3 separate regions of the Homo sapiens genome follow, and all the other regions are linked to region 1. Evidence: promoter capture Hi-C in 16 types of primary human blood cells and fetal thymus (Javierre and others, 2016). All regions are on one chromosome and are shown on one strand. Each heading gives the region's core, a stretch centred on a gene start or on the middle of the fragment in contact. The rest is flanking DNA. Distances are from core to core; before and after follow the strand shown. Region 1 holds the start of AK3 (adenylate kinase 3). Region 2 overlaps INCR1 (interferon stimulated noncoding RNA 1). Region 3 overlaps PDCD1LG2 (programmed cell death 1 ligand 2).

Region 1 (2,500 bases), core at 1-2,500:
ATCAGTTCTGGACCTCTGAGGAGAATGGTAACTGTGTTTTATTTTCAGAGAGCCTTCTTTCTGCCTTAGCATAGTGTCCGGGACAAAGCAATGATGATAAATGGACAACCATTATTGAACATTGACCCCGTAGCTGGCATTGCACTAAGTACTACATTATTTTAACTCCTCCATTCTACTCCTCTATGCCCATTTTACAGGCAAAATGATACTCACTCGAACGTTTTTGTCCTCTGTTTCCATTCTTGAAACATGCCAAACCTCCAGTTTTAGGGCCTTTTCCTAAAACTGGACATAGGAAGGGCCCATGTCTCTCTCTTCCATATTCTAATTAAGCACTCAGCACACATGCCATCTCTTCAAAGCTTTTCCGACCGCCTATCTACAACAGCCTGCCTCCACAGTTTCACACACTCTTTTACGTTATTTATAAAAGAGTCTCACTCAATGGAAGCTGGATTTCCTCTCCTGTAAAATGAGGTAGGCCCTCTCGGCTCAAGGTCACTCCCTGTGATTCTACACAGAGAGGGAGTGGGAAGAGAGGGCGCTCGGCAGCAGAGGAGGAGGAGGAAGGAGGGAAGGGCGAAGGCGGGAGTGGGTGCAGAAGCGGGGGGTCTGGCGGTCCAGGGGGGTAGAAGGGAGGGGCGGATTCGAGTGGGCGCCAGGTGGAGGTGGGGCCAGGGTTGTCAAGGGAGCACGAAAGGGGTCGCGGTGTGTCCGGCAAGGACTGGGTAGGGCAGCGCCTGCTATGGACTAGGGGCGAGGGCTACGAAAGGGTTGTTGGAGGGGTGGATGCGGGTGGATCCCGAAACCAAGCGGCTCCGAGGGGCGACTAGAGGTGGGGAGGGGGCGCGCAGGAGTTGCCAAGGTCGGACAGAGGGGAGCGCGGTCTATCCGGCTGGGAATGGGCCGGACAGGGCGCGGGGTTCCGGGGTCGCGGAGAGGCGCGGAGGTAGATCTGAGCCGAGTGGAGGGCGCGTGGGGGTGGGTGCAGAGGGGCGCCGAAGGGATCCGGGCCCAGCGGCCGGTGGAGAGGGGCCGCGGAGAGGCGCAGGTGGGAGCTGGGCGGCCGAGCGAGCGCAGAGGGGGCGCGGCTTGCGCGGCTTGCGCGGCTGGGCGGGAACAGGCGCTCGGTCGGGGGCGGGGGGTGCGCCGGGGTAGCCGAGAGGCGGACGCAACAGCGGGGTCCCGCGCTGTCTGGGCGGCCCCAGGGGCTGTCGGCTCACTTCCGGGAACGCCGGGGAACCGCAGTAGCCGCCTGCTAGTGGCGCTGCTAGCCGGCCGGCGCAGGCTGCCGAGCGGGTGAGCGCGCAGGCCAGGCCAAAGCCCTGGTACCCGCGCGGTGCGGGCCTCAGTCTGCGGCCATGGGGGCGTCCGCGCGGCTGCTGCGAGCGGTGATCATGGGGGCCCCGGGCTCGGGCAAGGGCACCGTGTCGTCGCGCATCACTACACACTTCGAGCTGAAGCACCTCTCCAGCGGGGACCTGCTCCGGGACAACATGCTGCGGGGCACAGGTGGGAGCTCTGGGCCCAGGGCCGGCCGTGCGCTGTCACCCGGGTCGGACTTCGCGGGCGAGGGGCCGAAGCTGGGCACGCGGGTCCCTGGCTGCGGGCGCGGCATTTCCCTCCCGCCGCCCGGGACAGAGACCTCGGGCTGCTGAGCGACTGCGCCCCAAAACCTCCGGCCTCCGTGGGCCGCTTCGGGCGGGTTATGGGGTGGCGGTGGGGGAAGGGACTGGAAAGTTAGGTCGAGCTCGAAGTTCAGAGATGAAAGGAAACCACCGGGCTTTGTTTCAGAGGCCCAAGTCCTCCCAGTGGCAGCCACTCTTGGGGGTCCATCGAGCTGAGCCGCAGCTTGTTCAACGTGCTGGTGCCTTTGGAAGACTGTCATTAGCCCTGCTAGAGTCTGCTCGTTCTGTTTTGTTTTCTTTGTTTCTTTCTTTTCTCTTTCTTTTTTGGTGTGGTTAAGCTCTATGAGATCTTGTAGTTCTGACCTTTCCCCCATATTCCCAAGGCCAAGTATTATTTACCCTTGTTGCAGTCATAAAATTATCTCATTTTGATATCCTTAGATTTCGTAGACACGAAGGCTATTCTTGTGCATGGTTCTATAAAATATTTTGTTTCTCATGCCAAATAAATTCTTACAGCTCGGCACGAAAGGCAGTTAACAATCTACACTATACAATGGGTGAATTTGTGGTATGTAAATTCTCTCTTAAGAGGGTTGTTTTTGAAAAGCCAATCGCAGGAGTTTTTTTCTCAAAAAATGTTGACCTTACTTTTCAAAATAGAACCCGTTTTGAAACTCATTTTGAAACCCATTTACATAGAAATAATGCTTCCACAAGGCCTTTTTCTTTTGTTTTCCTTCTTTTTTTTTTTTTTTTTGTAAGGATAGCAAACAGGATAGACGTGCATAGCATAAAAAACAACGCCCTCTTTCGTTCCCTACCTCAGTCCCATTCTTCGGAGGGGAACAGAGTTTTCCTTCTAGAAA
Region 2 (3,312 bases), core at 420-2,919, 840 kb before region 1:
AATGAGATCATACATGTGAAGCTATTAGAGCAATGTCTGGTGCATGGTATGGAGATTAGCTATAATGGCAAACTTAATTAAACCTCATTTTGGATACCAGCAATGAGACATTGGCAATCTAATGTTTCAAACCCAGCACAAGGAGGAACATGTAGTCCAAACCCTGCCCAGCACTTTAAAACAGACATATCCCATGACAGGCTGTAAATACATTATCAGGAAAGACAACGCACTGAAAATATATTTTGTCTGAAATTTAGAAATATGTCCCCCAGGGGTGTTATATGATAGTGATATTTTTCTTATAATAGACACCTAACACCTTCTGCTATACCTTCTAGTAGAAGTCCACAGATGCATTTGGGCAATTGCAACATCTTAGCACAAAAGATGTCACTTTGATTCACTCTCCACTTTCAGTTCATGTGGTCTGGGTGGAGCTCCAGATGTAAGATATCACTTACATACTCTTTCTTTCAGTGACTGGTTCTGGAGAGGGCACAGCACATAAGTTTTCCACTGTAAATCTCAGGATTTTGCTGAGAATGCTGAGAAAAATACTCTGGCTTTTTTTTCTTGTAAAATATTTGAATCTGAAAGGTTTAATAATCATTGGCATCCATCTTGTAATTATGAGGAGATATCTTGTCTGAGAATGGCATCAACAAAAAGGAAACAGAGTGAAGAAATGATAGAGACAATTTGAATCCTGAAGACATTTGTTAGACCCCCTATACCCAGTTGCACATTTGGCTGCTCAGTTACATAAGCCAACACATTATCTTTTAAAAATTTAAGCCAGTTTGCATCAGGTTTTCTCTCATTTGCAGCCAATGAATTTTGATACAACTTCTACAAAATGTACTTAAAGGCCCGGGTGCGGTGGCTCACGCCTGTAATCCCAGCACTTTGGGAGGCTGAGGTGGGCAGATCACGAGGTCAGGAGATTGAGACCATCCTGGCTAACACGGTGAAACCCCGTCTCTACTAAAAATACAAAAAATTAGCCGGGCATGGCGGCGCACACCTGTAGTCCTAGCTACTTGGGAGGCTGAGGCGGGAGAATGGCATGAACCTGGGAGGCGGAGCTAGTAGTGAGCCGAGATCTTGCCACTGCACTCCAGCCTGGGCGACAGAGTGAGACTCCGTCTCAAAAATAAATAAATAAATAAATAAATAAATAAATAAATAAATAAATAAATAAGTTTATTTTGTCCTATGCTCATGGTCAAAGCAGATGCCCAATTTTTATTTTTCTCATAAAACCAATCAACAAATATACATTGGGCCCTTGTTACAGGGTCAGATGCCACAGAGTTTAAGACAATTCCTTGTGCTACAATCTAATTGGAATTTATAGTCTCTTTATTTTTTATCTCTTAATGGATATGTCTCCACTTCATCCAGATAGATTTTGATTGAGGAGTGAGTTGGTTATGTACCTCCTGTTCTCAACTCTAAGTCCATCCTCCTCTCCTCTGCTCTGATGTGCCAGGGCTGGAATTTTGACAAACTTCATTTGCCAGCCTCCCTTGCCAGCTAGCTTCCTGTTAAGTTCAGTAAATGGGAAGGCCTTGGGGACTGGAAGGTGGGAGGGGGAATTATTTCCTGTTTCTAGTTCCTGAATGTGTCATGCCTGTAGCAATAGGTAGTAGAAAGGTAGCTGCTGTCTGTAGTTCTAATATTTGGCATCCACTTTTTTGCTCTTTCAGTCTTCTTATATCTTTATTACAAGTTCCTAATATTAAATACACTCTATTTTTATGACTGGACTCTGGCTGATACTAGCACTTGATACTAGGTGTGGTCATAGGAAACAGATTCTCAAATTCTGACATTCTGGGATTGATTTGATTTGTTGTTAGTGTTGGATTGGTTTGAATTGAGAGCTGAACTCTTTGCCACTAGTAATCTATGGCATGCATTGACATCATGGTTGATTAAATTATCATCTGTTCTTGCTAGGGTTGAATACCAATGAAAGGCAAGTTTCTGGAGGCCAAGTAGCTGTTGCATTTAACCATTATGGTAGTAAAGATGATTATAAGGAATGTAATGTGGGATGGCTGCTTCTGATTGCACCAGGGTGCTTACAGGAAGAAACTAACAAGTTTAGGGCTTTCACCTCAAATCATATTCAGAGCACCAGAGGGCTTCTAAGACTGCCCTGAAAGTACCTCTTATTCCTTCTAATTACAGGAATCACTAGACATGAAAGACATGACTGAAAAATTCAACCCAAATCAATCATTCACAGACTGGCTAAGTCTCATATGTGAAAGTTTTCTCAGTAATTTGAAAGGAGTAGGACTCTGAGACTAGGAATGGGGACATTTTGGTGGATTTGGATGAAACTGAGAATGTTGAAACCCCCAAGCATCCCTGAGTTTCCCTTGATAGTGGAAGAAGCCTCTCATTTCTTGTCTAATGATATTAGCCTTTCCTTGTTTGAAAGCCTGTAATAAGCCCATATGAGGCACTTGCCTTGCAAGGGAGATCCCTATTCTTTCTCAGCCCCAGTGCTCCCAACTCTCATGGCCTTTATTTAGAGTCAGTTCCCGGAATATACGGAGGTGGGAAGAGCAGAGTCTAGCTCAGCAGGAAAAGTCTTATACTTCAAAAGAATCATAAGATTTTGTTAACTTAACATTAGAGGAAACCAGGCTAGTATGTATGGGGATGAATTCTAAAGGTATTAGACCCAGGAGCACAGAAGATAACATTGAACTGGGGCCAAATTAAGGTAGTCCTGATATACTACACTTTCCAGATAGTTTTGGACTTAATGTTGTAGATGATTACAGTAGTGGTATCACGCCTTCATGTAATTCCTTTACACATTGATTTTTGGCATGGTTATGTGCTTGCTTTGGATAATGGAACATTATTAGCAAATGTGATACAAACAGAGACTTGGAAAGCACTTGCACATTGGGGTTTTCTTTCTTTTTTGCTGTTTTTGGATTAGACTCTATGTTGAAGATGCCTGGACTAACCTACTGAAGATACGTGGTTTTACCAACAGCCAGCACCAATAGGAAGATATGAATGAAGCCATCTGAGACCAGCCATCTGGCAGCCAAACTGCCAACTGACTGCAAATGCATGAATGATCCCACTGACACCACGTAGAGCACAAATGAGTTGCCTCCACTGAGCCCAGCCCAAATTGTTATCCTATAAAATCATAAAAACATAAACAGTTGTTTTAAGTCACTAAGTTTTGGATAGTTTGTTATACAACAAAAGCTAGCTGAAACAAATGTATTAGCTAGAGCAGCTGTGAATGGCACTATTTGCTTAGTTGATTGG
Region 3 (3,312 bases), core at 513-3,012, 820 kb before region 1:
AACCAGCAAGGTTACCTTTGCACAGTGGATGGAGACATCTGGAAGGACCAGAGATTCTGCATGGCCGGAGTAGACAGCAACTGCTCAAAACCAGGGCCCTCTGGAGGACTAACCTAGCTGCCTAGCACTGGCCCTGTGGGCTAAGTAAGCTTTCTGGCAGTTTGTGGGAGGTGGAGAAGTACATGCTATAAGAGGGAGACACTGAACTTCTTGCTAAGATGGGCATGTGGGTACTTGAGGAATCAATTGGAAAATTAAAAGGGATGCAATTTAATTGGTAGTCCAAGCTATTAAAACAGATCCTAGACATGTGATTGTGTGCTGAGTATACTGAAAGAAGAAGTAGGTGCTATGGAAACATATAATAAGGGGATTTAATGTAATGGGTGTGGTGCGTGGAGGTAGAATTAGGAAAGACTTGATGAAGTATAAGCTTAGCTGAGATTTAAAAGATGACTCCAACTCAGGTGGACAACAAGAAAAAATATTTTAAGAAGAGACAATATTGTATGAGAAAACTCGGAATTGAAAGACTGCCATGCCTCTGAGGACTAGAAAATCCTGTGTGGTTAGAGCTTTAGACAATGAAGGTGATGGTGATGCAGTTAAAGCTGGAGACATGAGTCAAACCATCCTGGGCTCGTTGGAACTTCATCCAGTGAGCAATAAGAAGCCATGGAGAAGGTCTGGACAGAGGACACATGGTAGATTTATGATTTTTAAAAGCCTATTATAGCAAAAAGTGAGAACAGACCAAGTTGGAGGTAGCAGGAGTGAATACAGGGAAACCAGTTAGGAAGATTTCTCTGTAGTCCAAGTTGAACCACACTAGCGGCAGTGAAGTTCGGCCAATAAGCTGTAAAATGTTCCTTCTCTTGCTGCTTCCCCTTTTACAGATAGAAAGACCATCTCAAAGAAGATAGGCAATTTGTACAAGGTCAGAAAGCCAACAAATGGCAGCACAAGGTCCCAGCCTAGCCCTCTGACCCTGGTTTAAAGCTCTGTCTGCATCACCAGCAGTTCTCAACCCTTTTCCATGGCACACAAGTTTGTGTGCATGGCAGACACATGTAAGAAAGCAGATCTGAATGCAAGTGAGTTGGAGACAAGGGTTATATAGGCAACCATGATTTCTCTCTGGTTCATTAAAAATATAAAAGAAATTGTTTGCACATTTATTCACTTAATTCTTATTTGTAAGAAAGGTCTCCTAATCACAGTTAGAACTTGAGCTTTACCTCCCAGCTCGGAGCTACTGATATCCTCACTCACTCTTAAGATTGGGGTGAAGGATGAGGAGAGGATTTATTTCCACTCTATCTTTGAGTGTGACTCCATTCCATTCTCCCAAAGACAGCTGGAACGGAACACTCAGCTGCTCATTTCTGAAGTTATTAAGGAGTCCTCAGGCCCCAGGCCTTGAACCCTGAGGTATGGGTGTGAGAGGTAAAAGAAGAATGGCAGAAGATAAGACAACTGAGGTGCACCTGACACAACTCTCTGAAGTGGTTCTATTTAAAAGTCGAAGTTCTGTTGGACATACCTCCTCCTTTACCATGAAGCTCCCTTCCCTCCCACATTTATTTTTCTTTCTATCTTTCTTCTTCTCCATCTCCTGTTTTCTCTTTCTCCCTCACTCCCCTGGCCATCTTCTTCCCTCCCTCTGTCTTTTTCTTTTGGCAACAATTCCTTGCATTCTACAGTTAGAAATATTGTGGTCAGCACCCAAGTGAATACATACACACATAGGGCAATGGACAAATAGAACATGACAATATTTTATGGCAGATGAAAATATAGAAGTTATGAGTATAAATGTAAGATAACAACCACTTAAAATTCCCCTAGTCCTCAGATAGTGCTGCTGCAAACTCCTACTGAATTATTTCCACATGTCATTTCTCTTTCTATAGATGAGGCCATGTATAGATCTTTGGAGAAGTTCATTGAGTGCAGACAAGGGAGCCGTTTAGGAAAGCACCAGCTAGGCCTGCATACATTCTGGGGGTTTTGTGGGCAGGCTCCACCCAGGAAACCAAAGACAGACACATGAACAATGAAGCAATGAAATCAGGGCTGAAAGGCTTCAGCATGCTCTGTCCCAGCTGGTACAACAGAACAGGAGTGTGTTGGTAAGAATACAACAGGCTAAGGAGAAACTCGAAGGGAGCTGCTGAAAGACGTTAATGCACCACCAACCAGCTGTTTCCTTATCCCCAAATGGCCTCACAAACCTTTCTCCTTTCCTTACCCAACCGTGAGGTTGAGATTCCTGGGAGAGGGGGTGGGTTTAACCCAGGTCATATCCAGACTGGGGAAAAGAGGGGTGAAAATGGAAGGAATCCTCAGAAAGGATCCTGGCAACCTCCCACCAGCAAAATCGGAGCACGTAGCTCTCTGCATTGCCAAAATAACATCACTCTCATGAGGCTGATGAAAGCTCTTGGCTCAAAGAATAAGACAAACTCTTTCAGACATAAGAACAAAACATTCCCTTTAAAAAACTCAGTGTAAGAAGTTCAGCTCACTGACGATGAGAGCCATTTTCTTCTGGGGAAAAATAATCATCAAGACAAGCTCAAAGTGGTTCATAAGCTCTGAGTGGGTTTAGCATGAAAGCAGCAAGCCATAGGCCTGCAGTGCAAAGCAGTGGCTCATGCTGCAGACACCCAGTGCATTGGGTTACCATGAATAAAACTCACTTACCTTTTGAAGAATACAGCTTTTGACAGAGTTGTTTTCTTAGGGCTATCACTGTGGCTATGAAAATGAAAGCAATGATGCAGAAGGGGATGAAAATGTGAAGCAGCCAAGTTGGATGGGTCCTGGGTTCCATCTGACCTGGGCAAAGGAAAAGCACCAGAATCCTGTTACATGGCAACTAAGAGGTAGACCAACAGGCTGGCCACATGAGTGGGTGACAGCCAACACGGCTAGCTCTGTGGAGCATTTACTCCACACCAGGCCCTATTCTAAGTGCTCTGCACCTATCAGCTCATCCACTCCTCGCAACCACTCTGTGAAGTTGGCTCTGCTATGATCCCCATTTCACTGGTGAAGAAAGGGAGGCACAGAGAGACTAGGAAGCTTTCCCTAAGTTACATAGTAAGTGACCCAGCTAAGATACAGTCTGGTTCCAGATTCTGTGCTTTTTACCACTCTCTCATGTTATTTTTTTCCATCCATCCATCAATCCATCCATCTATCATCTAATCATCTTTCTTTCTTTTTTCTCTTTTTCCTCCCTATCCCCCTTCTCCTCCTCATCCTCTCTCTCTTCCCAGTGGCAAAGTCTCTCAGCCCAAAAATGTC

The links. The method cuts DNA at HindIII sites, captures the fragments that hold promoters and counts their contacts. A CHiCAGO score of 5 or more calls a contact.
Region 2: a fragment that was not itself captured here is called in contact with the fragment with the promoter of AK3 in region 1 in 1 of 17 cell types (neutrophils); the score reaches 5.3 in neutrophils.
Region 3: a contact is called between a fragment that was not itself captured here and the fragment with the promoter of AK3 in region 1, in 1 of 17 cell types (neutrophils). The highest score is 5.1, in neutrophils.

The regions. Positions count from the first base shown.
Region 1 is chr9:4,739,952-4,742,451 of GRCh38, reverse strand. AK3 (adenylate kinase 3) reads left to right here and starts at 1,250. Exons shown (of 5, transcript NM_016282.4): 1 at 1,250-1,515. The coding sequence starts at 1,365. RefSeq lists silencers at 861-1,350, 1,581-1,720. The HindIII fragment of the contact is 10,519 bases long and covers 368-2,500 here.
Region 2 is chr9:5,577,168-5,580,479 of GRCh38, reverse strand. All of the region lies in intron 1 of INCR1 (interferon stimulated noncoding RNA 1), which reads left to right. Among named protein-coding and RNA genes, the nearest start is that of RIC1, 50 kb to the left of the region's middle. The HindIII fragment of the contact is 7,807 bases long and covers 1-3,312 here.
Region 3 is chr9:5,557,147-5,560,458 of GRCh38, reverse strand. It overlaps PDCD1LG2 (programmed cell death 1 ligand 2), which reads right to left. Exons shown (of 7, transcript NM_025239.4): 5 at 2,707-2,841. All of the region lies in intron 1 of INCR1 (interferon stimulated noncoding RNA 1), which reads left to right. Among named protein-coding and RNA genes, the nearest start is that of PDCD1LG2, 48 kb to the right of the region's middle. The HindIII fragment of the contact is 2,654 bases long and covers 436-3,089 here.